3 separate regions of the Homo sapiens genome follow, and all the other regions are linked to region 1. Evidence: promoter capture Hi-C in 16 types of primary human blood cells and fetal thymus (Javierre and others, 2016). All regions are on one chromosome and are shown on one strand. Each heading gives the region's core, a stretch centred on a gene start or on the middle of the fragment in contact. The rest is flanking DNA. Distances are from core to core; before and after follow the strand shown.

The links. Contacts are between HindIII fragments. The CHiCAGO score rates a contact against its expected background, and 5 or more counts as called.
Region 2: a contact is called between a fragment that was not itself captured here and the fragment with the promoter of H3-3A-DT in region 1, in 2 of 17 cell types (total B cells and fetal thymus). The highest score is 6.3, in total B cells.
Region 3: a contact is called between a fragment that was not itself captured here and the fragment with the promoter of H3-3A-DT in region 1, in 2 of 17 cell types (non-activated CD4 T cells and naive B cells). The highest score is 7.7, in non-activated CD4 T cells.

The regions. Positions count from the first base shown.
Region 1 is chr1:226,060,854-226,064,077 of GRCh38, reverse strand. It overlaps H3-3A-DT (H3-3A divergent transcript), which reads left to right and starts at 1,583. Exons shown (of 2, transcript NR_185887.1): 1 at 1,583-3,088. H3-3A (H3.3 histone A) reads right to left here and starts at 1,362. Exons shown (of 4, transcript NM_002107.7): 1 at 1,267-1,362. RefSeq lists silencers at 954-1,023, 1,642-1,807, 1,394-2,243. The HindIII fragment of the contact is 4,693 bases long and covers 810-3,224 here.
Region 2 is chr1:226,403,808-226,406,947 of GRCh38, reverse strand. The region is part of intron 1 of PARP1 (poly(ADP-ribose) polymerase 1); the gene reads left to right. Among named protein-coding and RNA genes, the nearest start is that of PARP1, 2.7 kb to the left of the region's middle. RefSeq lists enhancers at 231-290, 3,119-3,140. The HindIII fragment of the contact is 1,899 bases long and covers 443-2,341 here.
Region 3 is chr1:225,549,431-225,552,609 of GRCh38, reverse strand. All of the region lies in intron 3 of ENAH (ENAH actin regulator), which reads left to right. Among named protein-coding and RNA genes, the nearest start is that of LINC02765, 83 kb to the right of the region's middle. RefSeq lists an enhancer at 3,118-3,179. The HindIII fragment of the contact is 1,436 bases long and covers 715-2,150 here.

The sequences.
Region 1 (3,224 bases), core at 334-2,833:
AAACAAAAATACCTCGAACGGCCTTTGATCCAATTTATTTAATTAAAGCAGTAATTAGAAATGTCTGTAAACATTCCATCCACAAACAAGTCAAAAGAAAAAAGGCACAAACCACTGGAAGGTCGAGTCAAATTACAGCAAAAAAAAGGTCTTACTCCCCCCCACTTTGGCTGCCCCCCCTTCGTCTGACTGTTGATGGATTGCTGTAAATATCTGAAAATATTCTTGGTTTTGCATCTTTACAGTTATGTTGACAAAAAGGCGTCTCGAAAAAACAAGAGAGGAACAACAGCTACCACCAGCGAGCATTCTACAAAGCCCCGTCCTCGCGTCCAGTCCTCACAGGCTTCGCAGTGAAATAAAAAGTGCCCCGCACCCAGGCTTTAATTAACGCACGACATCCGCCGACCGGTCCACCCCAAGCACCACATAAACTTTTGGTTTTGCCTCCTTCGGGTCCCTCGGCACAGGGTCCCCCAACCTGCCCGCCTCGCTCCCAGCGCCTCGAGCAGGAACCAACTCGGCTCCCCGACCAGAACAAAATGGAAACAATCGCAAAACGTATCCGATTCCGTTCCAAAGAGACAAAACACCAAATCGCTCGAAAATACCCCTATCCCCTGCCACGTGCCGCCCTCCAAAATGCAAAAGTTTTTTTTGCATTTCAAATGCATCAAGTTTCCGCCTCTCCAAAAAAGGGAAAAAAACGTCCCTCTTTTAAAAATTCTTGCTTTTTTGAAATGGGGAAGAGAGAAACGGGGGAAAAAATATGGTCGGTGACCAGAGAAGAGAGACAAGATGGTGAAGCTTAGCAACAACTGTGGGGAGGCAGCAAAAAGCGAGTTACCCCAGGGTGCGAAGCGGCGGCGATTTCCACCCCTTTCCCGCTCGAAAACTGGGGGCTGGGGCCCGGGGGCGGTAGTTAAGAGGCCCGCGCGGGTCATGGTGAAGGTTTGGGGTCCGGGGAAGGGGCGGCGGGCGGGATTTCACCGAAGAAAGAGGAGCCAGGGGCGCGGGGAGGAGGAGGGAGAGCAGGCTCGGCGCCGCGGCGGTTGCTGCTGTTGGGCTGAGGCGGCGAGAGACGGGGGAGCCGCCGCCGCCAGAGGGAACAGGGAAACTCGCTCCTCACCTCCATTTCTGGGCCAAAAAGTTTGTGGGCTAAGCCGGAGGGGCTATGGGTCCCCTCCCGGCACCGCCAGGGCCCGGCTCGGGGCTGACGGCAAGCGGGGCTCGGTTCCGGGGAAGCGGGCAGACGGGGAAACTTACCCCCCTTCTCCTTCGGCTGGAGCTCGGCGAGCGAGAGGCGGCGCTGGCGTTGGAGAGCGACGGCGGCGCGGCGGCGGCTGCGAACACAATTGAAAGATGGCTGACACCGAGGCTATCCCCCAACACACGCCGCCCCGCCCCCGCGCCGCGCGCCAGCCAATCACACACAATGGAGGGAAGGCTCGGCCCCGCCCCCATAGCTCCTCTCGCGCCCCGCCCCCGCCCTTCCCCCCGCGCGCCCGTTCGCTGGCGCGCGCTCGCCCCTCCCCCGCGCGCCGCCCGCTCCCTCCTCCAGGCCGCCTCGCGCCGTGTGTGTACAAACACAAAAGACACGCTGAGGGGCCGCCGGCTCCCGCCGAGACTGCCGCCCGCACCCGGCCAGCCCCCGCCCCCGGCCCTGCACTCCCATCCCGCTCCGTGTGCGCACGGCGTCGAACCCCCGAAGCCCGGGTTTGGGGCGCCCGGAGGGAAGTGGGGGGAGGGGAAGGCGGGCGGAGGCGCGGCGGGTGAACGCCCGGCCTGCGGGCGTCTCGGGCCGCGGCGGGGAGGGGAGGGAGGGGCTGCCCCCGCGCGGGCCCCGGCGCGCGCCCCCGAGGAGACCCGGGCGGCAGTGGGGGAGGAGGACGCGGTCGGCCGGGTCGCCGCGCCCCATTGGAAAACGCTCCCCAGCAGGAAGCTGGCAAATAGGAATCCAGCGTCCCGCGCCCGCTGTCGGACCTGGCCGCTGCGGCAGCGGGAGGGGCGGACCGACGGCCTCCTTCCCGCCTGCGCGCTCGGCCAAGTGCGGCCGGGTCCTGCGGGACCGGCCCGAGTCCGCCGTAGACAACTTGATCCGCTAAGACTCCTGGGCCGGCCGCCTGCGTGCAGGGCAGCCCCTCGCCGGTGTTGGCCTCCGGGATCAGGGGACGGGGCTCGCTCTCCTCCCGGGCCCGGGCCCCCGACGCAAGATGGCTGTGTCGCGTCGGCCTCTAAACAATGTGTGGAGCGCGCAGCTCCTGCACCAGGGCCTGGTGGCTTGTCCTGCCCGCCCGTGGGGGCCGTGTGATCTGTTTTCGGTAGGATTGCTTTGGAAAGGAATTGCCGAATATAGATAGTCAAATGTCCGCAGCTTCTGCATAGTTTAGAAGAGGCTGAAAACGGCAGAAAGAAGGCAAACGTGGTTTGGGAATTAGTACATATACCTGTTTTCCAATTCTCAGTAGCATAGGAAACGGACTTTTCATGGCCCAAGTTATCCTCACGACTTGTCAGTTGATTGGCTTTGGAACCTCTGAACCGTCCCTAGATGGTATTGACGCTTCACAACTGTGTGTAAAGGTTTTCAATGGAAGGGTCATGCAAATATCCCGTAGGGTAGTGAAGGAGGAAAATTTCATAAATGAAGGGCAGTAATTATTTGTAATCTGAAGATCTCACAAAGCGGCTTAGTGATAAACATTATCCCGAAACAGATACATGGAAATCAGATACGAGGGAAGAAATGGATTTGTCCAAGGTCACTTAAGTGAGGAAGAGACCTAGGAGAAACAAACAGACAAAAATCCAGGCCTCCCGTTTCATTATTATTTCATGAATGTTAAGTGTCCATGGTTGCTGTGCAGAACACATGCAATCTCTAATCCTATCCTAAAAGCACATATGCAATCAGCTTGGACCGAGCTGCCAGCAAAGAATTTCCTATAATTCAAGCCAAGATGAGTTATTTTGCTTGTTTTTTGTTTTGTTTTCAGGAAACCGAAATATTTATTGTTGGATTTATCCAGGAAGGCTGTTCTGCATTAGTTAAATGCATCATATCTTCAAGAAATGTTAAATGACATGGGTAATGTTTTCTTTGTATGCTGGATTTTTCAATAGCTTCTACTTCTTGGCTTTAAAAAATATTTCTAACCAAGGGTCAGACCATTTTAGGTAGAGTAATTATGATCTTAGATGATTTGAACTAACTCAGCTGTCTG
Region 2 (3,140 bases), core at 143-2,642, 340 kb before region 1:
AAGCTTAGTGCTCATGGTCAAGGTAGCTTGATTTTCCTCCCTTCCATGAGCTGTAATGTGTTTTAGGAATGACCAGATATCCCTCAGTGGATTTTCAGTACTTAGTACAAGGGAGGGCGACATTTACCGAGTGGATACCCAAGTGCCAGGTGTACTTCCGTTATCTTATTTCACAATATGCCTGTCATCTTGGTGTCCTCGGGGCATACCTAAGTCAGTACGTGGCACACAGTGCTTATTTGGTAGGCATTTTTTAAGTTCTAAGCACTCTGTTAGGTTTTAAGGACACAGAATCCACCTTTGGGAATTTCCAGTTTGGTTAAACGGGAAATGACTGGTAAACAAACGTTACCGTAAGAGAGGATGGATGCCACCTGATGGAGCTGTGCTCTAGGCATTGTGTGCCTAGGAGTCCGAGATGACCCAGCTAAGGGTGGAAGCTTGATTAGGAGTCGTTAATTCACAGAAGTGGAGCAGAAAGATGAGAATAGGGAAGTAGACAGGGCCTACAATTTGAAGAGCCTTGTTGCCCACTAAGGAACCTAGAACTTACTTTGAATATACAAGGCAGCCTGTTATGAAGTTCTCACTCCTGGTGCAGGAGCTCTTAACCCAGGGTCTGTGGGATGGTAGGTAGAAGGCAAGAGGTCCATGAGTTTAGATAAGAAAAAATTGATATCTCCATCTCCACTAACCTCTAGATAAAATTATTTCCTCTAATCATAAATGTAAGCAGCAAAGCAAAGGCATATTAGCAGTCCCTATTTTTTTTTCACCAGTGATAATTACAGATATTTTCATATCACTTTACAGTTGGAAGTTTTTCAAAATATAATTTACTCTCATTGCTACAAAAATCACAGTTATTAGAGGCTGTACTAGATCTTGTTATTTAATGCTTAAAAGCTCACGGGTTACTGTACCCAAATTACCTTTCAAATGTTTTGATAATTATCTCAGTGTTTCCTTTTCGAGCCTTTTTGTTTGTTTTGTTTTTTGAGATGGGGTCTCACTATGTTGCCCAGGCTGGTCTCAAACTCCTGAGCTCAAGCGATCCATGCACCTCGGCCCCACAAAGTGCTAGGGTTACAGGCATGAGCCACCGTGACTGGCCATTTGCGAGCCTTTTTATTACGCATTTTTAAATGTTATTCTGAGAAAGGGACATCCAGGCGCCTTAACAGGTGGGCAGAGTACCGTGTTCTGGTGGAAAGACAAACAAAACCCAAGTCCAGACTGTGTTGAGGCTAGAACAACACCGCTGTGGAGGAAGTTAGAGGAGGCTTAGCTGTGGGGGAGGCCGGATGGAGGAAACTGAACCTGATCAAGTTTAGCATTCTGGGGCCGGGCTTGGTGGCGCATGCTTGTAATCTCAGCACTTTGGGAGGCTGGGGTGGGCAGATTACTTAAGCTCAGCAGTTTGAGACCAGCCTGGCCAACATGGTGAAACCTGTCTCTACAAAAAAATGCAATGATTAGCGGGTCGTGGTGGTGCGTGCCTGTTAAGTCCCAGCTACTCCGGAGGCTGAAGCTGGAAGATTGCTTGAGCCTGGGAGGTGGAGGTTGCAGTGAGCTGAGATAGTGCCACTGCACTCCAGCCTGGGCGACAGACCCAGACCCAGACCCAGACCCTGTCTGAAAAAAAAAATAGTAATAACAACATTCTGGGCTTTCCTTTGGTATACTTGATAGTGAAAGAAACTCTTTATTATTAAAAGTAACTGTGATTTTTATGTAATGGTGATTAAGGGTGGATTCAGAGTTTTAATTCAGAATTTAAAGTTGGTCTGGTAGACTGAGCTGGTGAAGGCCAAAAAGAAAGAAGCCTTTTCACTTGCTTGAATTTAAATACCTTCTTTTACATTTACATGGGAGTATTGTTCTCTGAGTATCTGATACCTGACACTTTAGCCCTCATGCCTGGGGCATCTTGGGAGGGATGAGCTGGGCCCTCCAGCATTTTGGTGGGAGGAGGATGGCGGTAGACCTTTGAGTTGCTCTGTCCTGGGAGGGTTTGAGCACCCGGAGGCATGCAGTGAGGTCAGTTCATTCTCTCTGTGGCCTAGGTGGACAGGTAGCATGGCCTGTTCTGCACAGAAGGGAACCCAGTTCACCAGCTGCTGGTTGGGTGAGGACCCTGGTATGTTAGGTGCTCAGTTTTTGCTTGGGTGCACAGCCAAAGATTCTGTGCCTTGCCTCAGCTGTGCAGCTAACAAATGGAGTCGATAGTCTTGTGACCTTGGTTTGGTGCCTTTCTGCCACATCATTCTCAGTCCTGAGTTTAGGGCAAAGCATTGCTTTGGTCAGGGGTGCTTCTGCTGAGGCTCTTGTCCTCTAAGCTTGTGCTGTGATTGCACCATTGGGCAGCACCTCCAGGGTGTCCAGCACTGTGCCGGTGGTTGGGGGAGACAGCACCCAGACCAAAGGGCAGCAGGTCTGGGGCCCCTGGCAGAGCCAGGAAGAAGTGCCATAGCCATTACCTGTGCTCTTTATACAAGGGTAACTGGAACATTGCACAGGAAGGGTAGACAAGGGGTAGACAAGCAGGCAGAGCCAGGTCGAGGCCATTGCAAATATTCCATGATAGCCAGATGCTTAGGGATCTGTATCAGCAGCCTAATTGAGATCTGGTGGAACGTTTGAGAGTTGGAACATGAGTATGCTCTCAGAAATGCCATTTGTTGTCTCTTCTACAGCAGGAATTTCCCCATCCTTCCTTTTTTGTTCCATCTGACTTGGAGCCCTAAGCAAACACTGCGTGCCCTCTGTGACATGTTGCTAGAGAATAGCAAGATAGGCCCTTATGAAATAATCACCAAATGCATAGTTCTTAGTGAGGGGAGCTGTGGAAGGAGCATTGGGAGATCTGAGGGAGTGCTCTGAACAGGGCTGGAGAGCATTCCAGACCCAGGGGAAAGCTGATGTTGAGGAGTCCTTGTGCTGCCATAGTCTTAGCTGTGCATTTTAATACATCACATCCAGAAAGAGGCCACTCACAGTGGAGAGAGATAGTGGGGTACCTTATCATTGCTTTTCCAGAGTATTTTCCCTGTCCCCGCAACTCCATCCTAAAAATTCAGCACATTTACTTTTAATGCTGTTTTAATAGTCTTATTGCATCTGTGTGACATTTAGCTTTA
Region 3 (3,179 bases), core at 183-2,682, 510 kb after region 1:
TTTTCATCATGGAAAAAAAACCATATAGAATGGCTAAGTTCTAAATAGTCTGATTTACTTAGAAAATGACTGTTTTCATAAATTACTGTAGTTAAATACTATTTCTTATTTTTGATGGCCTTAATTAGTGTGGAAGTAGAAGCATGGGAGAGAGTAAGATGTTAAGAATCAGGGCCGGGCACGGTGGCTCACGCCTGTAATCCCAGCACTTTGGGAGGCTGAGGCGGGTGGATCACGAGGTCAGGAGATTGAGACCATCCTGGCTAACATGGTGAAACCCTGTCTCTACTAAAAAATACAAAAAAATTAGCCGGGCGTGGTGGCGGGCGCCTGTAGTCCCAGCTACTCGGGAGGCTGAGGCAGGAGAATGGTGTGAACCCGGGAGGCGGAGCTTGCAGTGAGCTGAGATCGTGCCACTGCTCTCCAGCCTGGGCGACTGAGCAAGACTCTGTCTCAAAAAAAAAAAAAAAAAAAAGAATCAGGAGTGTTCTTGGGAATAGATATAATTTCTTACGCAGATTCTCCAGTGTAGAAAAGGTATGTACCCTACCCCAACATTATATGGGCCACCTCCCCTTTATCTAAACAAACATACCCAATAATGTCACCTCTCAGTTTGATCATACCCTGCCAAAAATCTTTGCTTTGGATTCACAGCCAATTGGCTGCTGAAATCATCTACTGTCTTTCTTCCAAAACCAAGTTGAAAAAGCTTAACTTACATCTCCCTTCCCTTTACAAACTGTAGCCTGATAAAACTGATGAGAAGCAGAACAAACTTATTGATAAAGCAACTACAAATATTAGTCTTGCCTGTTTCTTAATGTTTTACCACTTGTTAAAACATTTTTCCATATTAAACATTTCTGTTTGTATTTTTATTTATTAGGTGCTAATATCAATATTATCCACTGTTGTCATCGGCTAATCCTTCTCAGTGATTTTCAGACTTTAAAAAGTTATGGACATTTTTGTGCAAATGAGATCTTTGGTAGTTCAGTGTATAAATGGACAGAAAATATGGAGCTTCTCTGATTGATATAGGGTTCCGGATCCGCAACCACTGAGATGCCTCCATGGTTCTCTAGAACTGAATTTGAAAATTACTAGCTCACGTTTTGTGCTAAAACCAATAATCACATAATTTTCCTTTCCTCTTCTTCCGTGTCCCCTACGTCCTCAAATTTTTTAAATTTATAAAAAACAGCTTTCTGGGGGGCTAGTCATACCAACCTTTACAAGGTGCTCTGTGTGTTTGTGTGATATTTCCTTTTTTTAATGAAAATGGTGGGTGGCAGAAATGTTTTCCTTTATTTTGTTTTTAACTTGGTATGCAATTATCTAATATACTGGAAAGTACAGAAGGTGCTAAATACAGTGAGTTATATTTGGAAGTTAAAAAAACACAAATCACATGTTCTAACATTTTTGAAAAAGAGCTGAATTAGTGCTCTTCCTTTTATACCAAATGCTACAGTGTATTTTTTCCTTTCTCCATGGAAATGGATTCAATTTTAAATGGGTGTATTACCTAAAGTGATATTTTTGATTTCTCTATTATTTATCCAGTACATTTATAGATTTTTATAGGTAATAGTTATGGATTATATAAACTACAAAGTTAATTTTTGTGATAATTGGTGGAGGCAAATTTGCCCAACTTTTATTTTCTTAAAAGGTTTAAATCATTTGAAAATAGGAAATAATTTTTAAATCCAAAAAAAAGAAAATTATATGCATAACCAGTAAGATTATCCCACTGCTTTTGTTCTCAGCCAAGATGAAGCATGCCTTTTCAAAAAGAACACCCCAAAATAAGTATTTTACCATTATCTAAAAGACTACTTTTGCTGGGTTTTATTTTTTAATCTATTGAACATGAGAACATGGTCAAAAGTCATACCTTCCTTATGGTTGAAATTTTCTAGAGGTTTTATAATATTGAGATTTCATTTTTTAATGATAATTTGGCCTGACATACCTTCCAGTATGTACATTTGTATGAGTTTTATCACAGCATTTAAAAATCTCTTTATGTTTGGAATTAATAGGATTAAAAAAATCTCAGTAGTTTCTAGAAATACTTTATAGTGACAGTTTTGTTTTTTAGTCTTCCAGATTGTTGATATTAATGCAAACAATATTAAGCTTATATCACAAAAATATTTTCAGTAAAGCGTATTTTTTATAAACTGTGTTAGGCACTGGGAATAATACAAAAATGATAAATAAAGCCTGTCCCTTGCCTGATGTCACAGTCGGGCTACAGCTGCCAGAAACAAGGCCAGCAAAATTAGGATACAGCTTGCGAATGTAGTGTGAAGAAAGGCCTTCGGAATACCAAAGAAAATTCTAGGGTCAGGGAAAGCTTTGAAGAGAAGGTGATGTTTCAGCTATGTTTGAAGAATGGGGAGGGCTCATCAGTGATAGAACATTCTAGATAGGTTTGGAAGCATGAGAGCATGGAGCAATTGGGAAATAACAAATATGCCATGATGTGGCTTGGACATGAGAATTTATGTGGTGGGGGTCAGGAGCAGGGCATCCCAAGAGATAAGGTTGGGAAGGGCCTAGTGCTGACGAGTGTGCATGTTATCATGGAGGTGGTGAAGAGTCATTGAAGGATGCTAAATAAAGGATTGATATGATCAAGTTTGTGCTTTAGGACAAGTGTGGTGAGCATGCAAGTTTACAAGCATGAAGATCAATTCAGGACACTGTTGTAATAATACCGGTGAGAAAGATGAGGCCTGAACTGACAAAGTAGAGAGAGGAGAGGAGCAGAATGAAGAGGAGGTGACCAGCTTTCATTTAGTGCTGGCTATACCTGCCACGGCAGTGTTCTAGCTTTCTACCTTTGTCCTCACATAGAAATTAAAGCCATTCTGAGGCAGGAATAATGATCTATTTATTGGTCACCTTCTGTGTGCTTGGTCTTAATCTGGCGTATACATAACCAATCATCTTTATAACAACCCTACAAGGTTGGTGGTATTATCCTTGTTTTAGAAATGAGATTGGCACTTACAGAAGGTCACTACTGTAGTGATGCGAGGACCCACAGCTAGACAGTGGCATTAGTGGCTTTTGTACCGAGGTCTTAGAACTCAACCTCTTTTCTCTTTGTCAGTAAGATGTAATGGGCAGGCCGGGAAGGAGAGAACAGTGTTTTAAAATGA